Linked DNA regions of Homo sapiens: all the other regions are linked to region 1. The links are contacts of gene promoters, found by promoter capture Hi-C in human tissues and cell types (Jung and others, 2019). All regions are on one chromosome and are shown on one strand. The core of a region is centred on a gene start or on the middle of the fragment in contact, and the rest is flanking DNA. Distances in the headings are between cores, read along the strand shown.

The links. The method cuts DNA at HindIII sites, captures the fragments that hold promoters and counts their contacts. A contact is called where the count stands out against the background at its distance.
Region 2: a contact is called between the fragment with the promoter of CDK18 here and the fragment with the promoter of TMCC2 in region 1, in 1 of the 25 tissues and cell types used here (hippocampus).
Region 3: a fragment that was not itself captured here is called in contact with the fragment with the promoter of TMCC2 in region 1 in 4 of the 25 tissues and cell types used here (IMR-90 fibroblasts, aorta, dorsolateral prefrontal cortex and 1 more).

The regions. Positions count from the first base shown.
Region 1 is chr1:205,226,376-205,230,112 of GRCh38, reverse strand. TMCC2 (transmembrane and coiled-coil domain family 2) reads right to left here and starts at 2,167. Exons shown (of 5, transcript NM_014858.4): 1 at 1,342-2,167. The coding sequence starts at 1,548. RefSeq lists a silencer at 2,067-2,246 and an enhancer at 2,377-2,516. The HindIII fragment of the contact is 10,382 bases long and covers 1-3,737 here.
Region 2 is chr1:205,502,607-205,506,343 of GRCh38, reverse strand. CDK18 (cyclin dependent kinase 18) reads right to left here and starts at 1,675. Exons shown (of 16, transcript NM_212502.3): 1 at 1,548-1,675. The HindIII fragment of the contact is 16,948 bases long and covers 1-3,737 here.
Region 3 is chr1:204,961,414-204,965,150 of GRCh38, reverse strand. All of the region lies in intron 8 of NFASC (neurofascin), which reads right to left. Among named protein-coding and RNA genes, the nearest start is that of CNTN2, 80 kb to the left of the region's middle. The HindIII fragment of the contact is 5,464 bases long and covers 1-3,737 here.

The DNA.
Region 1 (3,737 bases), core at 918-3,417:
TTATTCTGGTGAGCTCCTTAGTGGCTGCTGCCATAGGATATAGGCTTTATTAAATGCAACAGAGTCCTTTCCGTTTCCCTAGCCCAGACCCTGCACCTTCTCTGGAGAAAATAACTGTGAGGCATCAATTTCCAAGGCATCTAAGTTCCTTCCTTGGGCTGACATCTCGCTCAGCTGGACGGTGAGCTGGCTTGAGAAGCCTGAGCCTGCAGTCCCTGTGGCAGTTCCGGCAAAGGTGCATTATTTATCTCAGCTGCTGTTTTAATTGATAGAGATATATTCAAGACAGCTCGCCAATTGTCTCGGCAACCTCAGGCCGGAAAATAAACAGCTCCATGTGAACAGTTCTTTCGGCTTCTGGTTCTAGCTGCTGGCTCAGCATGTATGCAACTTGAACTGAGGCCCCAAACCAGCCCAAGCACTGCTCCACCACCTGTCAGTTCTCCACCCTGGGGGTTGGTTCAGCAGGCAGGCAGAGATCTCCAAGCACTATCTTAACCTCTGGCTCCACCTAACGGCAGGAAATCCACCTTCCCCCCCCGCCCCCGCCACCACCCCCCCCCCCCCGCCCCTTCACAGATCGGCAAACTGAGCTTCATCCAGGAAAGCGCTCAAAGATCCCAATGGGGCCCGGCACGGTGGCTCACGCCTGTAATCCCAGCACTTAGGAAGGCCGAGGCGGGTAGATCACCTGAGGTCAGTTCAAGACCAGCCTGGCCAACATGGCGAAACCCCGTCTCTACTAAAAATACAAAAATTACCCGGGCGTGGTGGCGGGTGCCTGTAATCCCAGCTACTCTGGAGGCTGAGACAGGAGAATCGCTTGAACCGAGGAGGTGGAGGTTGCAGTGAGCCGAGATCGCGCCACTGCACTCCAGCCTGGGCGACAGAACGAGACTCCGTCTCACACACATACACACACACACACACACACACACACACACACACACACACACACAAAGATCCCAATGGGTAGAGACTTACTCAGCAAGGAAAACTAATGGTCACCTGCTGTCCACTTTTTGGTTAGCATCTTGGATTTCTCCAGCCCTTTGTCTGCGAATAACACTTCACACATTATTCAAACAATCTCGGATGGGTGAGTCACTAAAACGCTTGCTGAATAATGGGGAACAAACACAGAGACCTGACACGGAGCTGAAAGACAGAGGCATAAATGGTACCTGACGTCCCCCCTGGGGTGCCAGCAAAGCATCCGCTCATCCTCTCTGACCTTTGCCTGGCTTCCCCCCTCACTTTTATCCTGTTAAAGCACTTCTGCGTGGGGTGGCGAGAGCTAAGTCGCGGGCTGGGCTTGCCGGGGGGATGGTCTGCGCTCACCTTTAAATCAGGAGGCTTGCTTCGGGGACCTGGGTTGGGCGCCGCGGCAGCGCCGGCGTCTGAAGTTGGCCCGCCAGCAGAGTTAGCACCCGTGGTCTCCCCAGGCCGGAGGTCCGCGCCCGGCAGGTGGGAAGCGGCATCTTCCAGCCCAGCTCCATCCTCCTCGCCCTGTTGTTGCTGCAGCTCGTCCGATCTGCACCTCTTCATGGTGTATGTGGGTCGGCAAGGGGAATCTGTCCTTCCAGCGCGCCGTCTTGGGGAAGACCGCACCCCCTCTTATATTCATATGAGGCCTGGGGTCTAAATTATTAACAAGGAGGGGAGATGGCAGACCACAATTTCTTGAATTAAAAAAAAAATTCTTAAAGGCGGGTGAGGGAGGGGCGAGAAGGGGGAGCCTTGGTTATAGCTTGGAATAGTTCATTTCGACCTGGGGAGCGAAGACAGGTCACAGTCGAGGCTGGGCAGCAAGAGTCCTTGGGCAGTCATTGCAGGAGGGAGAAGGGAGACAACCCCCGGCCCCCAAACTTTCTGCTTCAGGGCATGGGCAGGACGGAGAGGAGCTGGGCGGCACAGCGCATCCCTCCCGGCCGGCCGGGCTGCGGGGCGAGGCGGGGCGCGGGGCAGCCGGCCGGGCAGGTCCTAGTCGGCCGCCATCGGCGCCGGCTGCAGCCCCCGGCCCTGCAACCGGCCCCTGCCCCGCATGGTCCGGCCGCGGAGCCCGCAGCGCGCCCGGCCCCCTCCCCGGCCCGCGCGCCCCGCTCCCCGCCTGACGCGCAGCCTGCCGCAAAGCCGCGACCGCGGCCCGAGCCCGCGGCGAGCGCGCAACCTACCCCGCCCGGCTGCCTCCGCCCGGGAGCGGGAAGGCGAGGCTAGGAGGGAGTGACAGCGGCAACCGGCCAATGGGAAGCCCGCGGGGCTGAGGGGGCGTCGCGCAGCTTCGTTTTTGGGGTTGGTTGCACCGTGCGATCCCCCAGGAGAGGGCTGGAGGACGATGCTGCTGCGTTTTTGCATTGCAGAGAGCGGGCTGCAGTTCAGGGGCGGGGGCGGCGGGCGTGGGAGTCGCAGTTTCGGCTCCAGCTTGAGGGACCCTGCCGAGGAGGGCTCGCCCAGGATTTCCTCCACCCATTCGCTTTATTTGGCGAGAAGGAGCACAAGAGGGATGTTTATTATCACTGCTTTTTGGGGCTCTTAACTTTGCACCTTCTAGCCATAAGGGAGACACCTATCCCCTCTAGGATACTTGGTCTGAGTTAAATCTATGCCTACATTCAGAGCTGCAAATGCCAAGGGGAGGGGGCGTTCTCTCCTCATCGCCCCGTCCCCCGCTTTAAGTGCATTATTTCTTAATGAGACTTTACTTGGCATAATTTATGCTCAGAAATTGGGAAGAATTTCATATAAAAACACAATAACGTATGTGAGAGTTCCTTACAAACTGTGAAGCAGCTTTTAAATAAGAAAGGGTATTAATGGCAGGAGGTTGCTACATATAGATGTGTGGAAAGGGAATGCTGTCTCTCTTTGCATAAATCTCAGCCAAACTGTGCTGAGTAATCTGGAAGCAGAAGAGAGCAAACGTTGGGGTTACCAAGATATGGAGAGTAGTAATAATAACAACCCCATCTGAGTGTCTATTGTATGCCTCCTGTGGACACAATGGATTTTACTCATCCAGCAACCAGTGGTTCACAAATTGTGATCCTTGGACTAGCAACTTCAGCATCACACGGGAACTTGATAGAAATGCAAATTCTTGGCCACCAGCCAGACCTAGAGAATCAGAAGTAGTGAGCCAAGAAATCTGTGTTTTGACAAGCCCTCCAGGTAATTCTGACACACACTACCCTTTGAGAACCACTGGCCTAGACAGTGAAGGGGCCACACGGTCTCTAAAGGATTTTACAGTTTACCAATCTCTTTCGCACCCATCATGCCATTGTAGCCTCACTTCAGTCTCACTAGTCGGAGTTTCTTGACTTTCTGTTCTGTCTTCTTCCCATTCCAACCACTCATTTTAATGTGTATCCTAGAAGAGACTAATTTGTTAAGAATTTACTTCAGCCAAGCAGCTACTTTCTAAACTAGGCAGCTCCACTTTTAGAAGATAGGAATTTAGGATGGGCTGGGAATGTGGAACCACCCCCCACATCTACCACAAAGAATCGAGCACAATGTGGAAACACAAAGCTATAAGCCTTTATTTAGCATTTTCAATGGTGAGGGGATGGCAGGATGCCAGTGTAGACCGTGGGCAGGACTAGACAGAACCGGTGGGGGCAGGTTCCCATGGTGCAAGGTTTCAAGCAGAGGAATATACTGCTCCCTGCCTGACTTGGCCCAGATAAGTGCAGCGGCCCCAAAGACCCTGAGCAAGTCTTGAGGGGCACGCGGTG
Region 2 (3,737 bases), core at 426-2,925, 280 kb before region 1:
ATTAAGGGTGGGGGAGGGGTCAGCCCCACAGCCTCCTCAGCTGCACAAGAGGTGGCTGGGAAAGGGTAACCCGAGATAGCAGCTTTGCTGTGGCAAGGTGACCCTCTCTCTGGAACGCCTTCAGGATGCAAACCCGGACCTGGAGCCAGTGTCGCCCTGTACTCCACCGACCCTCAGCACCCTCAGCACCGTTTTCCCAGGCCCCTCCCAAGGCCAGGCTAAAGGCAGGGGATCTCTGAGGACGTGCCAGTCCACCAGGCGCTCCAGGCATCCTCTCAGGCCCGTGTCCAGGAATGTGCTGCATGCCCATGCCCGGGTGGGGAATGCCACGCGAACATGCCGAAGCTCACTGGGTGCTGACACAGGAGGGGCAAGCCGGTGGTGTTAGTGAGTCACAGGGCCCAGGCTACAGCTGGGGAACTGCCGAGGGCTGGGCTAGGGGTGGGGAAGAAGGGGAGACAGTAGCAGATAGCGCGGAAGAGGTTCCAGGGCCTCTCACTCCCACAGTGTCAATCCTCCCACCCCGACTGCCGGGAGGTGCCCAGAGAGAATGAAGAGAGGCAGGGCTGGTGCCTAGGAGGGTGCTGACCCTGCAGCACAGAAAACCCCTCACTGTTTCTGCAGCCCAACTCCCACCCAGCACAAGGTCTGCAGACACCTTCAGGGAATCCCCGCCCCCCACAGGGCGAAAACAGAGGCCTCCAGTCCAGACCCGATTTTGGATTTCAGATTCCTGATGGTGTCCCTCAACTACAGCAGAATCCTCAAGGCACATCTCCTTAGCCCAACAGGTCACCGCCCACTCCCCCCGGCCCCACCCAGCCTCCTTTCCCTCTGCTGCATTAACCCTCTGTCGCCTGTTGATGAGGGGTGGAGGGGGGCACTGCCCCTTTGGTCTTCCGGGGTGGAAAGAGAGAAGCAGCAGCATTCCCCAGACCCCTGCCTCCCCCAGAACTGGGACCTGCAGGGCTTCACGTGTCCTTCCACGTTCTTCCCAGGGCTCCGGCCTCCCACCCCCTGCCTGCCGCTCTGGAAAGTTCACCAGAGCCCAGGAAGCCCTTCAAGGCAGCGATGTGGCCCCACACTCTCGGGTCCTTTGGTCCCTGGAGACTCCTGACCCTTGCCCTTCCCAGAATGAAGGGAGCTTAGAAAGCGCCTGGTTCCGGACTGGGTGGAAAACTTTGCTTTGTAGGGTTCAGACGGGAGCCCAGGGGCCAAAGTGATCCCAGATGGAGACTCCCTAAGGGGGCGCGGGGTCTGAGATTGCAAAATAACCCTCCCTCTCAAGCACCTGGAACTTACGAGTGGCCTTTCGAGGGCACCCCCCACCCCTCAACACACAACACAGTATCACACAGATCACGCCTCGTGATCTCTGCTCTCCCCTCGCCGCTCCGGTATTTCCCTCCAACCTCTCGCCTCAGGGCAAAAGCAAAACTGCGCCTTTAAGAGCCGTTCCGCTTACCTTTGCTCCTTATACCCGGCGCCGCGGTGCCCGCTCCTCCGACCTCCCCCTTCCTCCCAGGCGCACCGCCCGCGGGACTCACAGCGCGTGTCCTGGGGGCCGCGGTGCGCCCGCTCCCTCCCGGGCACGGGGCAGCTTCCCCTGCTCCGGAAAGGTGAGCAGTTCCCCAGAGAAGCTGCAACCTGAGCTGGCCGAGGAGGAGGTAGAAGGGGAGGGGAAGGGAGGGAGTGGAGGAAGGTGGGGAAGAGGAGGGAGGAGGAGGAGGAGGAGGAGGAGGAAGGAAAATGCCCGGCCCCCGCCAGAGTTTTTCACATGTACAAGTTGACTCCGCCCCCGGCCCTCCCGCCCTGCCCACAGCCGCTACCAATCCCCAGGGCTCCCTCTGCCCGGGTGCCCACCCCTTTCTCCCACTCTGGGAACCAGGGTCCAAGTGCCTCTTCCTGTTTCGTTTCTAAAACCGGCCCTGAGAGCCTTGGCTAGGGGATGAGGCCTTCTGGACTGGATCACCCCAGGACACCAAGGCGCCAGGGGTACACTGAGAGTGCCTGCCTGTCTCTAAAAGCGGTGCTCCTACCTCTCCTAGGTACCTCCCTGTACCTGGCGCCCTAGGAACGAATGTGCATGGACAGATTTTGGTGGTCATTTTCTTGACAATAGTAGCCCTCGGGCTCCCCTTCTACCCTATCCAGTGGGACTTGTCACTTACCTTTCCGGACAAAGTTCCCACCTCTCCAGGACCTGAATGAAGCCCTTGTTACCAGCCATCATTCACATTTCCCTCCCCGAAGGATAATTCAACTTGTCCTTTTGGAATTAAACTCCACAGGATATTTGAGAATCATCCAAGAAGGGTTACAGAATGGCTAGTTCAGCTAGTGGCACTCTCATTTTACAGAAGGGGAAACTGAGGCCCAGCAAAGCAATTGAACTGGCCTAAAGTGCCACAAGAGTTCATGGCGAGCCATGATTAGAACTCAGGCCAATGGCCATTGCACCCACATCATCTGACTTCAAGGATCAAAAAAAAAAACAAAACAAAAATCTGGGGATGGGGGTGAAGGGCACAGTGCCCCACCGCCAGGCCCCTCTCATCTCTGCTTCCTCCTGAGGGCTGTGAGGAGAGGAGGTGTGCCTTGGCTCTATGGCACCTCATCAAGGCAGTCTGTGTCCCCTGCCCTACCAGAGGGCTTGGCTGCTGCAGTCTGGGGTCTCCCACAGGGAAAGTCTCCTTAGGAGGGGGTGCTCCACAGTGTACATGTGCTTCTACCTGAACCCTTTCCCTGGGGACTGTGAGTTGTTGAGAATAGAACAGTTTCCTTCTGGAAGACATGGGCCTGAGGTCCCACTGTCAGCTGGAGACAGGAGAATGAAGGAAGACACTGGGCCCATGCATGAAAGTGACCTGTGGGTAGTTGACATCTCACAGAGGGCCTCCCAACTCTTTTTTTTTTTTTTACCTCGCTTTCTCTGCCAAGGCATGCAGATTTCCTGGGCACAGCACTTCCTAAAAATGAAACTGCCAAGTGTTGTCGGGGTGCATGGATCCAGAGCCTTTAGGTGTGCAGCAACCTCCTGGCTCTGTAGTCCAGTGGATGGTGAGAAGCCTGGGGAGCAGGAGGCCATAAAGAGGTTTGGAAGGGGCAGGGAGGGAAAGGGAGAAGGACTATGGCCAAGGAACTGTTTACTGGCGGATTAGAGAGAGTGGGGCCAAAGGGTAGAATTTCAAGGAACTAGGGGGGTGAAGTCAAGAGGTCTCCACAAACACTTTCTCAACATCTCTTATGTGCCAAATGATAGCCAGGGCTCTGGGCACATAAGATGAGTATAACCCAGTCCCTGCCTTCAAGAAGCTCTTGGTGTAATGCGGCAGGGAAGCAAACAGTTAGGATGCTATAGGAGGAGGCTTAGTGTTACGGATGCCTGGGAGGAGCTATTCTGCTTGAGGTGAGGGTTACAGGATGAGGGGACAAGAGAGAGGAGGAAGGATTTTCCCTGTTTTTTCCAGGAGGGGTAATCCCTTGTGCAGAGTGCAGGGGTGACAGAATATGGACCCACAGTTCCATGAGGTCAGAACTTAAAGTCTGGGGTGGAGGTGACACTGTAGAGGCAGGCAGGTGCTGGGTCCTGAAGACCCCCAACGTGGAGGCTGATCCTAGTGGAAAATGAGAATGAGCTTAGACCACACAGCGGCAGCAGGGAGGAGAGGAGGGAACTGATTTGAGAGATAGGTAGGAGACAGGGTCATGGAGCCTTGTGACTATTGGATTCTAGA
Region 3 (3,737 bases), core at 678-3,177, 260 kb after region 1:
AATGCCTGATCAAACTCAGAGTCCATACGCTAAAGCTCATATCTGTGTGGATTCAGGAAGAGCTTCCCTCGCCAGCTCATTTGACTTCTTGCCCAGGGACAGTCAGTCCTCTCCTGCTCTCGTAAGCTGTGGCTCAGAGTGGGTCCATGGGTTTCTGGGGAAATATGGTCAGCTAGCAGACAACAGGAGATGACAATGCCTCAACCATGTTGGCCTTAAAGGTCCAACGATAAATGCCTCTTGATCATCTCTTTTGAGGAAACATCAAGACTCCTGACAACCTTAGTTGCCCCCCTCTGTCAAGTGCTATGTGTTAGCAGGACAAGAAAGTTCAATGAATCAGACGTATCTGAGGACCTCTACCAAAAACAGCTTTTAGGGGCATCTGTATCCCTCATCCAGACCACTTTGCTGCTTTCGATTCTCAGAACTGAGAACCAGAGACTCATGGGGCCAGATTCTTGGCATCTCATTCACCTCTCTTGCTCTAGGAATGGCTGACCAAACAACCCCAGAAGATAGGAAAAACTCTTTGTCTAGTAATATTTGATACCTTTCAGTACCAGGAAATTTCTCCTGTAAGTTTAACCCAAACCTCATATGCAGTAGTTGGAGCTTTTCTTCTTATGCAGTTCTCAGCACAGCTGAGGATTTGAACAGCTTTTGTTTCTCTGGTCTGCCCTACAATTTCTCCCTCTATGGTACTTTCTTCCTATAATTGCACCTGCTTTTTGCCCCTTGGCTTCTCTTTAAGTTCTGTCTGTCCTTCTTAATTTCAGAAGCATAGAAGAACTATCCAGGATACAGTCAACACTAAACCATTCCCTTTAAAACCAGTAATGGGTAACACTTGTTAAGTATCGAGAATGTGCCCAACACATACTAGGAACCATAAGCACATTCTCCTGTTTAATCTTCACAACAATCCTATGAGACAGGTAATACATCCATTTGGCAAATGAGAACATTAAAGTTCTGAGACACTAAATGACTTACTCAGCATCACTCAATGGTATGTCCCGGACCCTGGATTTAATTCAAGGCAGTCTACCTCAGAGCACACACTCTTAACCACTTGGTCTCCTCACCTGGCTGAATCCTAAGCGGCAAGTTACAATCTCAGACCAGATTCTCCTGCCACTCAGCAGGTCAGGGGGCACCTAGCAGTGTTCAGAGGATACCAATCCACTCTAGAAATCACTAAAACAAAATAGAAGTATGGGGTGGCCCTCCTGCTACAAAAGAGACGTGCCATATTTCAGAGCCAAACAGACAGATGCCCTGGGCACTTTTCATCAAGTCTCTCTGTCCAGATGCCTGCACTCCAGAAAGAAGTCATCCTCCTTCCTTCCATTTCCCTTTGATTTCTTGCTAGAAGCATCAGCCTAGTTGTCTTTTGTTCAAAATGTGTCTCCCTTTGACTTTATATCCTTTCCAGCAGCTTCATACTTGGGTCAGCTCCGTCCTACCCTGGATTGAGGACAAGGGGTCAATCTCCAGGTAAACTCTTGTAAGCTTTGCTTGTTTCATAGTCCTGGATGGATCTCATAAGTCCCACTCATTCTCTTGCAATAATAGTTTGATCAATGGTCACAAACTGGTTTAAGTGACTGGAATCACTCAAACTTATTCCATTGATAAAACAACTCTATGTGTACGTTCCCCTGTATGGCTTATCTTACATAAAGTGAGGAACTTAGACCAGATGGTCTCTAAGGGAACTTCTGGCTCTGATGCACTCAGGCTTACAGAATACTTCCTATAACAGATTACCTGGAATCCGATTTAGAACAAGGCCCATTCCATACCAGGGCTCTGGGGCTCTTAACACAATAGTAGTTGGCCCCATTATCTTGAAAACAAACAATGCTTAGAATCCAACAAAGGTCCCCTGATTCCTTGGGTAGTGAATCTCTTTGGCAGGATCTCAGTGTGGTTCTAGCTGCTTGGTGCCAAGTTAGAGCCTTTGCCTCTCTCCCTGGCTCGCGCTCCCTCATCCCATCCCCTTCTCCAGTCACTCATCATCCTTTGTATTAGCACATCACAGTGCAGACACTTCCTATCTGTTTCAGCCCACAGTGAGGTCCCTTGAGGACCTGCAGCCTCAGCTTCTGAGGCATAACTAATGATGGGGGCCAGCTGCCTCACCAGAGCCAGCAAATGATGGTGCCTCTGGCTGCTCAGGGAAAATAAGACATTCTTGAGCCATGGTGAGGGGTAACTCAGGTGTGGAAATAGCCAATTACCCTATTAATCAGACTGAGCAACCAGCTGTGTCATGAGTTAAAACCATGCCTCATTGTAATTGTTCCATGTCTCGCAAGTGTGGACTGGTGGGCATTTGATTTGCATATACTACCAAAGGAGGAGAGAGGCCTAGGTGAGAGGGTACGGTGGATGGTTTCACCTCATTTATACTCATCTTGAAAGAGAACTCAGAGCTGGACTCTTACTCCTATTGCCCAGATGGATTTTAAAGAGACACGGGACCTCACTGTGAAATGGTACTCCCGGTAACTAAGGTGAGATTACAAAGCAGGCAATTCCTATCTAGAGTTAACTGAACATACTAACAAGCTTTCTGTGTTCTTTCAACTACCAATAGGAACCAGACTTCCTGTTTTCTCTTCACTATGGAACTCACCTATTTTAAGATAGTCTCCCTTCATCCATTCTTGATTCCTAAGCTTCTACTTTTTCAGTAAAAGTTCCTGCTTTTCAAGAAGTTCTTTTGAAGTCCTACCCTGGTTTGAACAACTTGTTGAGAATTCAGCAACTTGAGGCATGCCTGTTAGAGGAGACCACACCACCAGGTGAGCCACCTCAAACCCCCACACTGCCTCCTGGCAGGCAGCCTTCTGGAGGTGTCACCTTGGCACCCTGGCTGGGCCAGCTGCCACCCAGCAGGAGTTAATGACGTGGTATCAGTCAAGTTAGGCAAACTGGGGTTAGCACAGGCAAGGTTACTCCCAAGGTTACCGCTGCGACTCACCACTGTACATGTCAGGGTGGTTTCTTAAGGACGAGTCATTATAAGGGTGGTCTGTAACAAACAAAAGAGGGTGAGCAAACAGGAGGCCACGGAGAAGTCACAGAGGCATAAACGGGGAGAGAAAACAAATGCAAAGCCAGAAAAACAACTGAGGAGGGCAGCAGTGGTCTTTTGCAAAGGAAAGACACGGCATATTTGGAAAGGCAATACGCTCAGTGAAGAACAAGCAACACAAAACAGCCCACAAAAGGAGAAAAAAAGGTTAAATCCTGCAAAAGAAGGCAATAATACAGTAATGGTTTTTTTAAAATTAAAGAAATTAGGTTTGAACTTTAATTAATTGGTCCTGCTATATTTTCAAACAAATGAGAGAAGGATTAGTGGTGTCCTGTAGCCATCTTTTGAACAACTCCTTCTTATCAAAATCCTCAGTTCCCAGGACTCTGGGTCAGGCTAGCTCTTGGAGCAGCTAAAGAGAAAGGAGTGTTAGTGAGCTCCGGGGAAGAGCAAAGTGCTGCCTGGGCAGAAGCTAAGCTGCAGGAGGTTGGTGGTAAATGGGAGGAGGTCATTGACCAAAAGAGTTGGGCCAAGGGGCCCTGGCCACACCCAGCAACATGTGTCACTGGAGTCTGCCCAGGTGGGCACCACTATGATCTTGGAGATGTCTCTGTTGGCAGAAAGCCCTCCTTGTGAGGATGCCGGGAGAGGTTCAGTGAGGTGGGGAGAACATCCCTGAGGTTCAGGC